2 separate regions of the Homo sapiens genome follow, and region 1 is linked to region 2. The links are contacts of gene promoters, found by promoter capture Hi-C in human tissues and cell types (Jung and others, 2019). All regions are on one chromosome and are shown on one strand. Each heading gives the region's core, a stretch centred on a gene start or on the middle of the fragment in contact. The rest is flanking DNA. Distances are from core to core; before and after follow the strand shown.

What was found. The method cuts DNA at HindIII sites, captures the fragments that hold promoters and counts their contacts. A contact is called where the count stands out against the background at its distance.
Region 1: a fragment that was not itself captured here is called in contact with the fragment with the promoter of TUBGCP6 in region 2 in 1 of the 25 tissues and cell types used here (lymphoblastoid cells).

What each region holds. Positions count from the first base shown.
Region 1 is chr22:50,093,525-50,100,527 of GRCh38, reverse strand. It overlaps MOV10L1 (Mov10 like RNA helicase 1), which reads right to left. Exons shown (of 27, transcript NM_018995.3): 3 at 926-1,085. Among named protein-coding and RNA genes, the nearest start is that of MOV10L1, 7.0 kb to the right of the region's middle. The HindIII fragment of the contact is 9,728 bases long and covers 1-6,693 here.
Region 2 is chr22:50,239,211-50,246,327 of GRCh38, reverse strand. TUBGCP6 (tubulin gamma complex component 6) reads left to right here and starts at 1,305. Exons shown (of 25, transcript NM_020461.4): 1 at 1,305-2,609; 2 at 5,961-6,124. The coding sequence starts at 1,869. HDAC10 (histone deacetylase 10) reads left to right here. Exons shown (of 20, transcript NM_032019.6): 17 at 1-30; 18 at 236-418; 19 at 501-653; 20 at 798-1,145. The coding sequence ends at 821. RefSeq lists a silencer at 933-1,002 and enhancers at 1,473-1,522, 1,933-2,212, 1,786-2,716, 4,624-4,923, 6,821-7,117. The HindIII fragment of the contact is 41,268 bases long and covers 1-7,117 here.

The DNA.
Region 1 (7,003 bases), core at 580-3,079, 150 kb after region 2:
AAAAGAAAGAAAGAAAGAAAGAAAAAGGATATATACTTTAGGAAACGTACAATGTCATCCCCAAGCCCTATTTTAAAACATCTAAAGTACTTTAAATAGTACCTCAGCATGCCAGTAACACTAACTTAGATCATAACACTATAATTATATGGAAGCAACAACTACCCAGAAATTACTGACTGCATTTAACAAATGAACACAAAACACATAAAAGCACAAGTTTAAACAGTGACCTGGCTGGGTGTGGTGGCTCATGCCTGTAATCCCAGCACTTTAGGAGGCCGAGGCAGGTGGATCACCTAAGGTCAAGAGTTCGAGACCAGCCCGGCCAACCTGATGAAACCCCATCTTTACTAAAAATACAAAAAATTAGCTGGGCATGGTGGTGCACACCTGTAATCCCAGCTACTCAGGAGGCTGAGGCAGGAGAATCAATCAAACCCAGGAAGCAGAGGTTGCAGTGAGCTGAGATCATACCACTGCACTCCAGCCTGGGCAACAGAGTGAGACTCCATCTCGAAAAACAAAAACAAAAACAAAAACAAAAAAAACAAAACAGTGACCTGGTGCCCTCTCCCATAGTCCACTCAATATCCAAGAGCCTCTGTGTGAAGCCAGCACCTGGAGAAGCTACTCTAATCCCGAAACCCTCTCAACAAACAAAGCATGCCCAAAACTGATCCCTTCAATGTTGTGTGTAGCCATCACAAATATAGACACAGGGTTGTGTTCTGTCACCCAGGCTGGAGTGTAGTGGCTGGATCATAGCTCACTGCAGCCTCCAACTCCTGGGCTCAAGCGATCCTCCTGTCTCAGCCTGACAAAGTGCTGGGATTATAGGCATGAGCCACCGTGCCTGGTCCATAACAATTCTTTAAAAGACAAAACCTAATTTTCAATGTGGAACACAGACCCCTGAGCATACCTTCGCACACACTCTCCAGAGAGAAGTAGGTGGTCTGACTGATACAGCCTGCGCCCTCCACCAGGGAAGTCACACAGCCAATCAACACTCGGGGGCCGCAGTCTGAGGGACTCCCATGGTTTCTGCTGTCGTCTTCCCACTTATCAGAGACAGCTTCTACCTGTAAAACAAACACACCGCTCTAAACCATAATACGAGAACTACAAGAAAAGCAAACTACAGGCTGGCATGCCTGTCTGAGACCATTAGGGCTGCAAGTCCAAGATCAAGGCCCTGGCAGATTCCGGGTCTGGTGAGGGCCTTCTTCCTGGTATACCGTCGGTGTCTTCCTGCTGTGTCCTCACATGGCAGAAAGGGCAAAGGGGTTCTCTGGGGTATGTTTCATAAGGGCTCTGCCCTTGTGACCCAGTCACCCACCAAAGCCTCCTAATAAGATTCCACTGGGGTCAGGATTTCAACATACGTATTTTGGGGGACACCAACATTGAGTCTATAGCAATCCCTTATGAACACTGATGCAAAAATCCTCAATGAAATATTATCAAACCAAATGCAGCAGCATATTAAAAGGATTATACCCCATGACTAAGTGGGGTTTATCCCAGAATGCAAAAGTGTTTCAACATATGAAAATCAGTCAACATATTACATTGATAAGATGAGGGAAAAAATCACGATGATCTCAACTGATGCACAAAAAGCATTTGACAAAATCAACACTTTTTATGATGCAAACACTCAATAAACTAGGAATCGCAGGAAATCTCTTCAACACGAGAAAGGCCATAAACAAAAATCTCACAACAAACACCACACTCAATGGTGAAAGGCCGAAAGCTTTCCCCTAAGATCAGGAACCAGGCAAGGATGCCCATGCTTACTTCAAGACTTTCAAATTTCAATTATCTTTATTCACAGATGGTAGGATCTCATCTGTGGAAAACTCTAAAGATTCCACACACGTAAATGAAACAAAAAATGGTTAGAGCTAATAAATGAATCCAGCACAGGACACAAAGTCAACATACAAAAATCAGATTTCCATACATTTGCAATGAAAAATCCAAAAAGGAAATCAAGAAAAATGATCCAAAGAAAGGGAAAACAATTCCATTTATAACAGCACTGTTAGGTTAATAGGTTAATTCCTCAGAACACTTAGTAACCTAACTAAGGAGATGGAAGACACGTAAAATGACACTAATGAATGAATTAAATACCTCAATAAACAGCAAGACAACCGCGTTCATGAATTGGAAAACCTAATATTATTAAAATGACAATCTTAAGACTTAATTATTAAGATGATAATACTACTCAAAGTGATTATGTGATTATTAAGATGTTAATCTTAATAATTATTATTAAGATGTTAATCTTAATACTTAATTATTATTAAGATGACAATCTTAGACTTAATTATTAAGATGACAATACTACCCAAAGTGATCTATTACACAAATTCAGGTTGGGTGTGGTAGCTCATGCCTGTAATTCCAGCACTTTGGGAGGTTGAGGCAGGTGGATCACTTGAGGTCAGGAGTTCAAGACCAGCCTGGTCAACATGGTGAAACCCCATCTCTACTAAAAATACAAAAAAAATTAGCTGGGTGTAGTGGCAAGCACCTGCAGTCCCAGCTACTTGGGAGGCTGAGGCATGAGAATTGCTTGAACCAGGGAGGCGGAGGTTGCAATGAGTCAATATCACATCATTGCACTCCATCCTGGGTGACAGAGCAAGACTCTGTCTCAAACAAACAACAAAAAAACCCAACAAATGCAACGCAATCCCTATCAAAGTCCTATGGGTCTATTTTTATATAAATAGAAAAACTCATCTAAAATTCTAATGGAATCTCAAGGGACCATGAATAGGCAAAATGGTCTTGAAAAGGAGTAACAAAATTGAAGGTTTCATACCTCCTGATTTCAAAACTTCCTACAAAGTTACAGTCATCAAACTAGTGTGGCACCAGTGTAAGGACAGAAATATAAACCAATGGAATAGTAAAGAGACCCAGAAATAAACCCTTGCATGTGCAGTCAATTGATTTTTGACAAGGACCATTCAATAAACTGCAATTGTGCAGTCTCAAAAAAAAATAGTGCTGGGAAAATAACCATGGGCAAAATAATAAAGTTAGACTCTCGTTTTACACCAAACACAAAAATTAACTCAAAATGGATTAAAGAGGCCAGGCGTGGTGGCTTACCCCTATAATCTCAGCATTTGGAAAGGCGTGGGATGGGCGGATCACTTGAGCCCAGGAGTTCGAGACCAGCCTGGGCAACATAGAGAGGCCCCATCTCTACAAAAAATACAAAAATTGGGTGAGGCAGCACACACCTGTAGTCCCAGCTGCTCAGGTGGCTAAGGTGGAAGGATCACTTCAGCCTGGGAGGTTGAGGCTGCAGTGAGCTGTGACTGTGCTGCTGCACTCCAGCCTGGGCAACAAAGTGAGATCCTGTCTCAAAAAATTTTTTTTAATGAATCAAAGACTTTAATTTAAAAGCAAAAACTATAAAACTCTTGGTAGAAAAAAATCTTCATAATCTTGGATTAGTCAATGGTATCTTGAGTGTGACATCAGAAGTACATGCAATAAAAGAGACAAATTAGACTTCCACCAAAATTTAAAACATCTGTGCATCAAAGGATACCATGAAGAAAGTGAAAAGACAATTGATAAAATGAGAGAAAGTATTTGCAAATCATGTATGTGATGAGAGATTAATATCCAGAATATATAAAGAATTCCTACTACAAGAAAACAACCTAATTTCAAAACGGGCAAAGGATTTGAGTAGATATTTCTCCAAAGAAGATATATAGATGGCCAATAAGCACATGAAAAGATGCCCTCACAAATCATTAGGGAAATGCAAATCAAAACCACAGTGAGATACTACCTCACAACTACGAGGAATAGCTACTGTCAAAAGAAAAAAAAAGAAAAAGAAAATAGCAAGTGTTGGCAAGGATACAGAAAAAGTGGCAGCCTCATGCACTGTTGGTGGGAACATATAACGGTGCAGCTGCTGTGGAAAACATCTGGTTCCTCACAAAGTTAAACCTAGACTTACCATACAGCCCAGCAATTCTCTTCCTAGGCGTAGCCCCAAAAGAACTGAACAAGGACTCAGACAGACTTGTTCATGGCAGCACAATTCACAACAACCAAAAAGTAGAAACAACCCAAGTGTCCATCAACAGATGAATGGAGAAACAAAATGTGATTTATTCACACAATGGAATATTCAGCCATAAAAAAGGAATTAACTTTTGATACATGCTACATGGGCAAATCTTGAAAACAGAAGTCAAATAGCCAGACACATGATTCCGCTTATATGAGGTATTTAGAATGGGCAAATTCATAGAGACATAAAGTAGAACACTGAATAACTGTTTAATGGGTACAGAGTGTCTACTGGGATGCTGAAAAAGTGCTGAAGACAGATTGTGGTGATGGCTGCGCAACAATGTGAACGTGCTTAATGCCACTGAACCGTACATTTCAATATGGTTAAAATGGTATATTACGCATATTTTACCACAAGAAAAATATCTAAATAAAAAATAAATCCAGAAGTACATTCAGGTTTATACCAAATGGGGATCATTCCCATCAAGTGAGAACGGCTCACAACACAGAAACTGTATTTTCCACCATATTAATAGCAAAGGGACAGAAACTATGGGATCATTTGGAAGATACTGAAAAGTACTTGAAAAATCCATTACTAATTTATAAAAGCAAGATTGTGAGTAGAGATGAACCCTCTTCACCATAACAAAAAAGGTCCTGCATTCCTTACAAGATGGAACAAGTGAAGGGCAGCTGACCACCAAGAGGGCTGGGATTTGCTGGACACCCAGGGGCCAGTTTTTCCACATTGTCACATTTCTGAGATCAGAATGAGTCTCACAACCTACGTTTCCATTTTAAATTTTCATTATCAAATTAATGGTGTATCTTAAAATCAACGGGAATTTGGTATGAGAACCTGCTTTGGAAGGCCGCGTGTGAGTACACGACCACAGCTCAGAGAATGAGGTAAACATCATCTCTACAGGTTCTGGGTTCCAGATCCTCTTTCAAAGATTCTGAACCCAGAGTACTCCTTTAAATACACACAAAAACATGAGGACTATCGTATAATTTCAAGTTCAAAAGGAAATCTTTGGAGGAAAAAATATAATTAAATAATTGGGAGAGGAAAAGAGGGTAGTGTGAATGAGCCAGTTGTACATCTCTGATGATGGAAGTCCATAAATACTAACATTGGTGAATTAATAAAAGATACAAGCATATTGTTTAAGTGACTCAACTATCTACCAGATAAGGTAGAAACAGAAACCCAGAAGAGCATCAGGTCTGCAGCATGAAAGTGCAGGTGGGGAACGTGGAGGGAGGCTCTTCTACTTTGCATTCACAGTCTCTAAGCCAGAGCTGACAGAAATGTTCTCTATGTGTGCTGCCCAATTTGGTAGTCACTAGGCTTCAGTTAGCACTTGAAATGTGGCCAGGGAAACTGAGGAAACACTTTTATTTATTTATTTTTAAGAGACAGGGTCTCTATGTGCCCAGGCTGGTCTCGAACTCCCGCCTCAGCCTCCCGAGTGCTGGGACTCCAGGTTTATGCCACCGCGCCTGGCTGTAAGTTGCATTTAGTTTTAATAAATCGAAACTGCTGCACATGAGTGGTGGCTACCATATTGAATGATGGAATTCTAGACTTTGAATTATTTTATTGGGTATGCTTTTTTTTTAATTTGAGAAAGATGATACTAAGCATTAGATGGTACTAACTATAATAGTATAATAAAGTACATCTCAAGTATTTTTAAAAAGTAGTTAATAGCTCAATACGTTTGCCAGATTCCAAATTACATTTAAAAATCGCTGGGCATGGTGGCTCATGCCTGTAATCCCGGCACTTTGGGAGGCCGAGGTGGCGGATCACGAGGTCAGGAGATCGAGACCATCCTGGCTAACACAGTGAAACCCCATCTCTACTAAAAATACAAAAAATTAGCTGGGCGTGGTGGCAGGCGCCTGTAGTCCCAGCTACTCTGGAGGCTGAGGCAGGAGAATGGTGTGAACCCAGAAGATGGAGCTTGCAGTGAGCCAAGATCATGCCACTGCACTCCAGCCTGGGTGACAGAGCGAGACTCCGTCTCAAAAAAAAAAAAAAAAAATTGAAAGCTTTCCCATACAGGAAGAAAAAGATTAATTTGAAAATACGATGGAAAATGATGTTAATAGAACACATAAAAACTCCTGAAAATAAATTTAGTAAGAAATTTACAGGACCTAAAAGAAGAAAACTATTGAACTATAAAAAGAATACAAAGGAAGGCTTAAATAAATGGACAGACATATGGAAAAGACTCCATATGACCCAAATATCAATTATTCTAAATGAAATGCATAAACTCAGTGCCATCCAAAGCAAATCTGGGCAGAGGGGGAGAAACAAGATTCCAAACTCATCCAGAACATGTGAAGAGCCAGAAAAATACCATATGCTAATAAGAGCAAAGAAGGGAAACCTGCTCACCACCTATCACAGCAACCATGCCATGGGGCCCCCTTACAAGCATCAGGACCACATCACATGCAGGTGGGATTCTGATACATGATTAAGGAATTTTCCAAATCAGCAGGGAAAAAGTGAGCTACTCAGATGACTGGCTAGCCATTAGGAAAGCAATGTCTGGTTCCTTCTCTCAGTCTGTGCACCCAAATAAATTCCAGGCAGGTCAAATATTTAAATATCAACAAACAGGCCAGGCATGGTGGCTCATGCCTGTAATCCCAACACTTTGGGAGGCCGAGGTGGAAGGACCACTCGAGGCCAGGAGTTTCAGATCAGCCTACGCAACACAGTGAGACGCCATTTCTACAAAAAAATTTTAAAAATTAGTCAGGTATGATGGTGTACACCTGTGGTCCCAGTTACTCAGGAGGCTGAGGTGGAAGAATCGCTTGAGCTCAGGAGTTCCAGGCTGCAGTGAACTATAATCGCACTACTATACTCCAGCCTGGGCGACAGCGCAAAGCTCTGTCTCAA
Region 2 (7,117 bases), core at 56-2,555:
ATGTTCCATGTCTCCACGCCACTGCCAGTGGTGAGTGACCATGCCACGCGGCAAGGCAGGTGCTGGGGAGCCCATGGATGTGTACAGCTGCTGTTTGCTGGCATTGTCATGATAGCAGGCCTCTGGTCCTTCCTGTCTCCCTGCTCCTACTCCAGGGGCCCTGAGATTGGGAGGTTGGGAGGCCAGAGCCAGCAGGTGTCCGTAGATGAGGAGCTGGGCTCTGCTGTCCCCACAGATGACCGGTGGTTTCCTGAGCTGCATCTTGGGCTTGGTGCTGCCCCTGGCCTATGGCTTCCAGCCTGACCTGGTGCTGGTGGCGCTGGGGCCTGGCCATGGCCTGCAGGGCCCCCACGCTGCACTCCTGGCTGCAATGCTTCGGGGGCTGGCAGGGGGCCGAGTCCTGGCCCTCCTGGAGGAGGTAAGCTGGGCAGGGTGGAGGTGCTGCGGGGTGGGACGAGGGAAAGGACCAGTGACTGCTTCCGTCTTCGCCCCTGGTCCAGAACTCCACACCCCAGCTAGCAGGGATCCTGGCCCGGGTGCTGAATGGAGAGGCACCTCCTAGCCTAGGCCCTTCCTCTGTGGCCTCCCCAGAGGACGTCCAGGCCCTGATGTACCTGAGAGGGCAGCTGGAGCCTCAGTGGAAGATGTTGCAGGTGAGGCTGACTGCGGAGGCATGGCCCTGCCCTGGGGCCTGGCTCTGCCGCACAGATCGGTGGGGAGGGCAGGGCAGGGGAGTGCCCTGAACCAGCTCCAGCGCCGGAGGCCAACTGCGCGCCTCTTCTCGGCTCCTCCTGTAGTGCCATCCTCACCTGGTGGCTTGAAATCGGCCAAGGTGGGAGCATTTACACCGCAGAAATGACACCGCACGCCAGCGCCCCGCGGCCGCGATCCGGACCCCAAGCCCACGGCTCCCTCGACTCTGGGGCACGGAACCCCGCCCACTCCCAATCCCCGCGCCCCGCCCTCTCCCACCCGTGCTTCCCCCGCTCCACCCCTCACCTCACCTCGCCCCCGCCCCACCCATCGCGCCCCGGCCCGTCCCATCGAGGCCCATGCAACCCACGCTCGGTCCCGTTCCGGCCCCTGCGCCCCGCTGCGCTTCGCTCCCCGCCCTTGCGCCGTTAGTAAACATCGCTCAAACGAAACGCTGGCTCTGCCTCCTTTACTGAGCACGCTCGGCCTCGGTCTCTCACCCGCGGTGCCGGACTCAGGCCGGAAGTATGCCGCGGCCCAGGCCTCACCAACTTCACGCGCTGCCGGCGTTCCCGTGACGTATTTCCGGCGCGCCCGCCCTAGTGCTCTTCACACTGGCGCGGCTGTGACGCGACGGAGGCGGCGAGAGCGGCAGCCGTGGGCACTTTCCACGGGTGAGGCCTGGAGAACGGGTGGACGTGCAGGCCAGAACCCGGGACCCACCCGGCTGAGCCCCCAGACTCTCCGCTGCCCACGACCCTCGGAGTGGCACCCTCTCCTGGCCGTCTCCTCTCGTGGGTCCCGAAGAACGGGTGCAAAGCCGAGTTCGTCCGCTGTACTGCGCGGGCGCGCGTTTCGTTCTTCGGTTTTGCCACGGTTCTGTGACTCCCTAAAGGTTGAGGGCTACTGAATTAGAAGAAACGCCGAGCTGGCTTCTGGTGGGCTGCCGGGCGCCGGGCAGCGTGCTTGGACTGGGGAGGGCAGGGCGTGTTTACTCTGAGTAGAGCAACCGCAAGACCTCCTTTAAAAAATACCAGTTCTGAGCTTCGGCATTGGAGAGGCCGCCTGTCATTCAGCCTCTTCGGACCCTCTCTCACTCCCTGTCTTCCGGAGCGTGAGTGAAGCCCGGGTGAGGTGTTTTCCCACACGCCGGGGGCCCGGAGCTGAGAAGGGGCATGGCCAGCATCACGCAGCTGTTCGACGACCTGTGTGAGGCCCTCCTGCCGGCTGCCAAGACTCACCTGGGCCAGCGCAGTGTGAACCGGAAGAGGGCAAAGCGGAGCCTCAAGAAGGTGGCCTACAATGCTCTTTTCACAAATCTTTTTCAAGATGAGACTCAACAGCTGCAGCCTGACATGTCAAAACTACCAGCGAGAAACAAGATCCTCATGTTGTCCTTTGACTTGAGAGTGGGTGGCCTGGGCCCCAAGGCCGACCGTTTGGAGGAGCTTGTGGAGGAGCTGGAAGCAGCCCCTTGCTGTCCGCTTTTGGAGGTGGGGTCTGTTTTGGACCTCCTGGTTCAGCTGGCAGGGAGTGGTCCCCCTCAAGTTCTGCCGAGAAAACGAGACTACTTCCTTAACAACAAGCATGTGGGGAGAAACGTTCCGTACAGCGGCTATGATTGCGACGACCTGAGTGTGTTTGAGATGGACGTTCAGTCTCTGATCTCCAGAGAAGAGTGTTTGTGTCACAGCATGATCCAGGAAACACTTCAGGTTATGGAGGCTGCTCCAGGCACTGGCCTGCCCACCGTCGGGCTCTTCTCATTTGGTGACCCTTGTGGTGACAGGTTCGAGAGAGACACCCGGGTCTCGCTCTTCGGGGCCCTTGTGCACAGCCGCACTTATGACATGGACGTCCGACTGGGCCTGCCCCCCGTGCCAGACAATGCGGACCTCTCTGGGCTGGCTATTAAGGTAGAATGTTTAGTTTTTCCTCTTTCATCTCTCTCGGGGTTTGGAAAATGCTTCCTGTGACCTTTCTTCTTCTTCTTCTTCTTCTTTTTTTTTTTTTTTTTGAGACAGTGTCTCACTCTGTCACCCAGGCTGGAGTGCAGTGGCGCGATCTTGGCTCACCTTAACCTCCACTTTCTGGGCTCAAGCAATTCTCGTACCTCAGCCTCCCGAGTAGCTGAAATTACAGGCACCTGCCACCACGCCCGGCTTAATTTTTTTTTTTTTTTGAGATGGAGTCTTGCTCTGTTGCCCAGGCTGGAGTGCCGTGGCGCGATCTCGGCTCACTGTAACCGCCGCCTCCCGGGGTCAAGTGATTCTCCTACCTCAGCCTCCCGAGTAGCTGTAGCTGGGATTTAGGTGCATGCCACCACGCCCAGCTAAGTTTTGTATTTTTAGTAGAGATGGGGTTTCACCATGCTGGCTAGGCTGGTCTTGAACTCCTGACCTCTTGATCCGCCTGCCTCGGCCTCCCAAAGTGCTGGGATTACAGGCGTGAGCCACCATGCCCAACTAATTTTTGTATTTTTAGTAGAGGCGGGGTTTCACCATGTTGGCCAGGCTGGTCTCCAACTCCTGACCTCAAATGATCCACCCGTCTCGGCCTCCCAAAGTGCTGGGATTACAGGCATGAGCCACTGTGCCCGGCCCGGTGACCTTCCTTTTATCATGGTAAAAGGGGGGATAGTCTGGTGGCTGCATTGTCCTGAGGTGGGGCTGCTGGAGTGGGCTTACTGGCGGCCACCCTCCTCTGCAGCGACAGTGCTGCCCACCTGCCGGCCAAAGCAACATGCTGCTTTTCATCTTTACCTAATGGGGTATATCGTTAAGCCACCTCTGCCTTCTAGAGCTGCCGTTTAAATTGAAGTTAATTAAAACAAAATAAAATACTCAGTTCCTCAGCCCCACAAGCCACATTTCAAGTGCTCAGTAGCCACGTGTGGCAAAAGTGTTCATGTTCTGTAATTCGTGCAATTGGATATGTTTTTGCTGTCTGTCGCCTGAGGCTTTACCATGGTACGCTGTAGCTCCTCATTTGAGTTTTGTATTTTATTGCTTTATCAGTGTTGCCAAAAGGATACATTGTTACTAGTCGTTCTATTCTTATGCGATAGCTAGATGATTTAGAAACATACATAATGCTACAGCAAATGTCTTGGTGTACAGCAGTTTTGTTTTTTGTTTTTGAGACAAGTCTTGCTCTGTCGCCCAGGCTGGAGTGCAGTGGTGTGGTCTCGGCTCACTGCAACCTCCATCTCCTGGGTTCAAGCGATTCTCCTGCCTCAGCCTCCTAAGTATCTGGGACTACAGGTGTGCGTCACCACACACAGCTAATTTTTGTATTTTATATGTTTGTATTTTTATTTTTTTATTTTATTTGATTTTTTTTTTTGACACAGTCTCGCTCTGTCGCCCAGGCTCGAGTGCGGTGGCACAATCTTGGCTCACTGCAAGCTCTGCCTCCCAGGTTCACGCCATTCTCCCGCCTCAGCCTCCTGAGTAGCTGGGACTACAGGTGCCTGCCACCACGCCCTGCGAATTTTTTGTATATTTAGTAGAGACGGGGTTTCACCGTGTTAGCCAGGATGGTCTCTATCTCCTCACCTCGTGATCTGCCCGCCTCGGCCTCCCAAAGTGCTGGGATTACAGGCGTGAGCCCGGCCTGATTGTTCTTTTTTTTTTTTTTTTTTTTTTTTTTGAGATGGAGTCTTGTGTAGGGACCAGCCCTACAGGGTCTGTGGGTTTTTCTCTCCATATGCGGAGACCAGAGATGGTAGAAATAAAGACACAAGACAGAGATAGAAGAAAAAACAGCTGGGCCCGGGGGATCACTACCACCAACACGTGGAGACCAGTAGTGGCCCCAAATGCCAGGCTGCGCTGTTATTTATTGGATACAAGGCAAAAGGGGCAGGGTAAGGAGTGTGAGTCATCTCCAATGATAGGTAAGGTCACGTGGGTCACGTGTCAACTGGACAGGGGGCCCTTCCCTGTTTGGCAGCCGAAGCAGAGAGAGAGGAGACAGCTTACACCATTATTTCTGCATTTCAGAGACTTTTAGTACTTTCACTAATTTGCTACTGCTATCTAGAAGGCAGAGCCAGGTGTACAGGATGGAACATGAAAGTGGACTAGGAGTGTGACTGCTGAAGCACAGCATCACAGGGAGACGTTTAGGCCTCTGGATAACTGCGGGTGGGCCTGAGTCATGTCAGGCCCTCCACAAGAGGTGGTGGAGCAGAGTCTTCTCTAACTCCCCCAGGGAAAGGGAGACTCCCTTTCCTGGTCTGCTAAGTAGTGGGTGCTTTTCCTAGGCACTGACGCTACCGCTAGACCAAGGTCCGCTAGGTAATGGGCGTCTTCCCAGGTGCTGCCATTACCACTAGACTAAGGAGCCCTCTAGTGGCCCTGTCTGGGCATGACAGAAGGCTCACACTCTTGTCTTCTGGTCACTTCTCACCTTGCCCCTTCAGCTCCTGTCTCTGTATGGCCTGGTTTCTCGTAAGTTACAATTGTAGAGCGAAGATTATTATAATCTTGGAATAAAGAGCAATTGCTACAAACTAATGATTAATAACGTTCATATATAATCATATTTATGATCTATAGTGTAACTATTCTTGTTCTATATATTTTATTGTACTAGAACAGCTCGTGCCCTCGGTCTCTTGCCTCGGCACCTGGGTGGCTTGCTGCCCACAGTCTTGCTCTGTCGCCCAGACTGGAGTGTGGTGGCGCAATCTCGGCTCACTGCAACCTCCGCTTCCCGGGTTCAAGCAATTCTTCTGCCTCAGCCTCCCGAGTAGCTGGGACCACAGGTGCCCACCACCACGCCTGGCCGATTTTTATATTTTTAGTAGAGACGGGGTTTCACATGCTGGCCAGGCTGGTCTCAAACTCCTGACCTCAGGTGATCCACCTGCCTCAGCCTCCCATAGTGCTGGGATTACAGGCGTGAGCCACTGCGCCTGGCCCCGGTGTACAGTAGTGTTTTAATGTTGAGTGTGATTTTTTTAATTCTGGGTTCCCCACATTGGAATTTCCAGGTCTGAGGCATCTCAAAAAGTTTCACTCTAAGTTCCACTGAGGCTTATGTGTTACATGGAATTGGAAATTGGCAGCCTTGACGACTTATTTTGTTTAATTCCTTAAATGGCTCATTGGTGGGAAACATTGTATGGTACACATGCGCTTGAGAAAAACAGAAGAAACATTTTGTTAGGTCTTTGCATAAAGTTCCTGAAATTCTCATCGCCCTTGGATGAAACGTGGACACAGCAATAAGTGGCGGTTTGCCCTTCCCTGTGTCTCCAGGTCCCACCGAGTGTGGATCAGTGGGAAGACGAAGGATTCCAGTCAGCGTCCAACTTGACTCCTGATTCCCAGTCTGAGCCCAGCGTGACCCCAGACGTGGACCTGTGGGAAGCCGCACTTACCTATGAGGCCAGCAAGCGGAGGTGCTGGGAGCGAGTTGGCTGGTGTGTGCCCTTCTTTGCCTTGGCATGCAGTGCCCCTACCCCTGCATGAGCGTGGCCTTGGATGGGGTGTGTGGGGGGCGTTGTGTACTCAGGGGTCCAGGCAGTTGTGATGGGTTAGTAACCTAAGCTAGTGTCCAAAATTGACTGAGTCCTGGGAGTTAAGAGAGATGCAGAGGGGAAAGCACTAACAGCCTTTAAGGAGGCCTCACCTCCCCATCCAGTAACCAGATCACACCTGTCGGGCAGAACTCCCCTCCCTGTGCCAGTAACCAGATCACACCTGTCGGGCAGAGCTCCCCTCCCCGTGCCAGTAACCAGATCACACCTGCCAGGCAGAGCAGTTGGGGCAGCTAAGTTATGTCCTTAAGAGCAAGAGAGCTGCCTGGCAGGCTGTGTGATTAGTGCCAGGAAGAAATGCTCACTGGGCATGGGGTGCTGATGAAGGAGCCTTTTCCATTCATGTCTAGAGGAATTGGGGTGCTGATGAACACGGAACCTTTTCCGTCCGTGTCTGGAGGAGTTGGGAGGGGCAGTCTGGGTGATGAGAAGCTCCAGCTGCAGCAGCTTTTTCCTGACTGGTACCAGCAGCTTGCTCTCTGGATGCGGTAGCCACTCACTCCCTGGCTCACCTGGGTCCAGAGGCCTCTGCACTCAGCACCTCTCAGAGTCTTTAATGTGGTGGTATCTTTTGATAACTCCCAGAACCCAGGCAGAGAATATGCATTTCGCCTGGGCGCGGTGGCTCACATCTGTAATCCCAGCACTTTGGGAGGCTGAGGCGGGCAGATCACTTGAAGTCAGGATTTTGAGACTGGCCTGGGCAACATGGTGAAACCCCGTCTCTACTAAAAATACAAAAATTAGCTGGGCGTGGTGGTGCTCGCTTATAATCCCAGCTACTCAGGAGGTTGAGGCACAAGAATCACTTGAACCTGGGAGGTGGAGTTTGCAGTGAGCCGAGATTGCACCACTGCACTCCAGCCTGGGTGACAG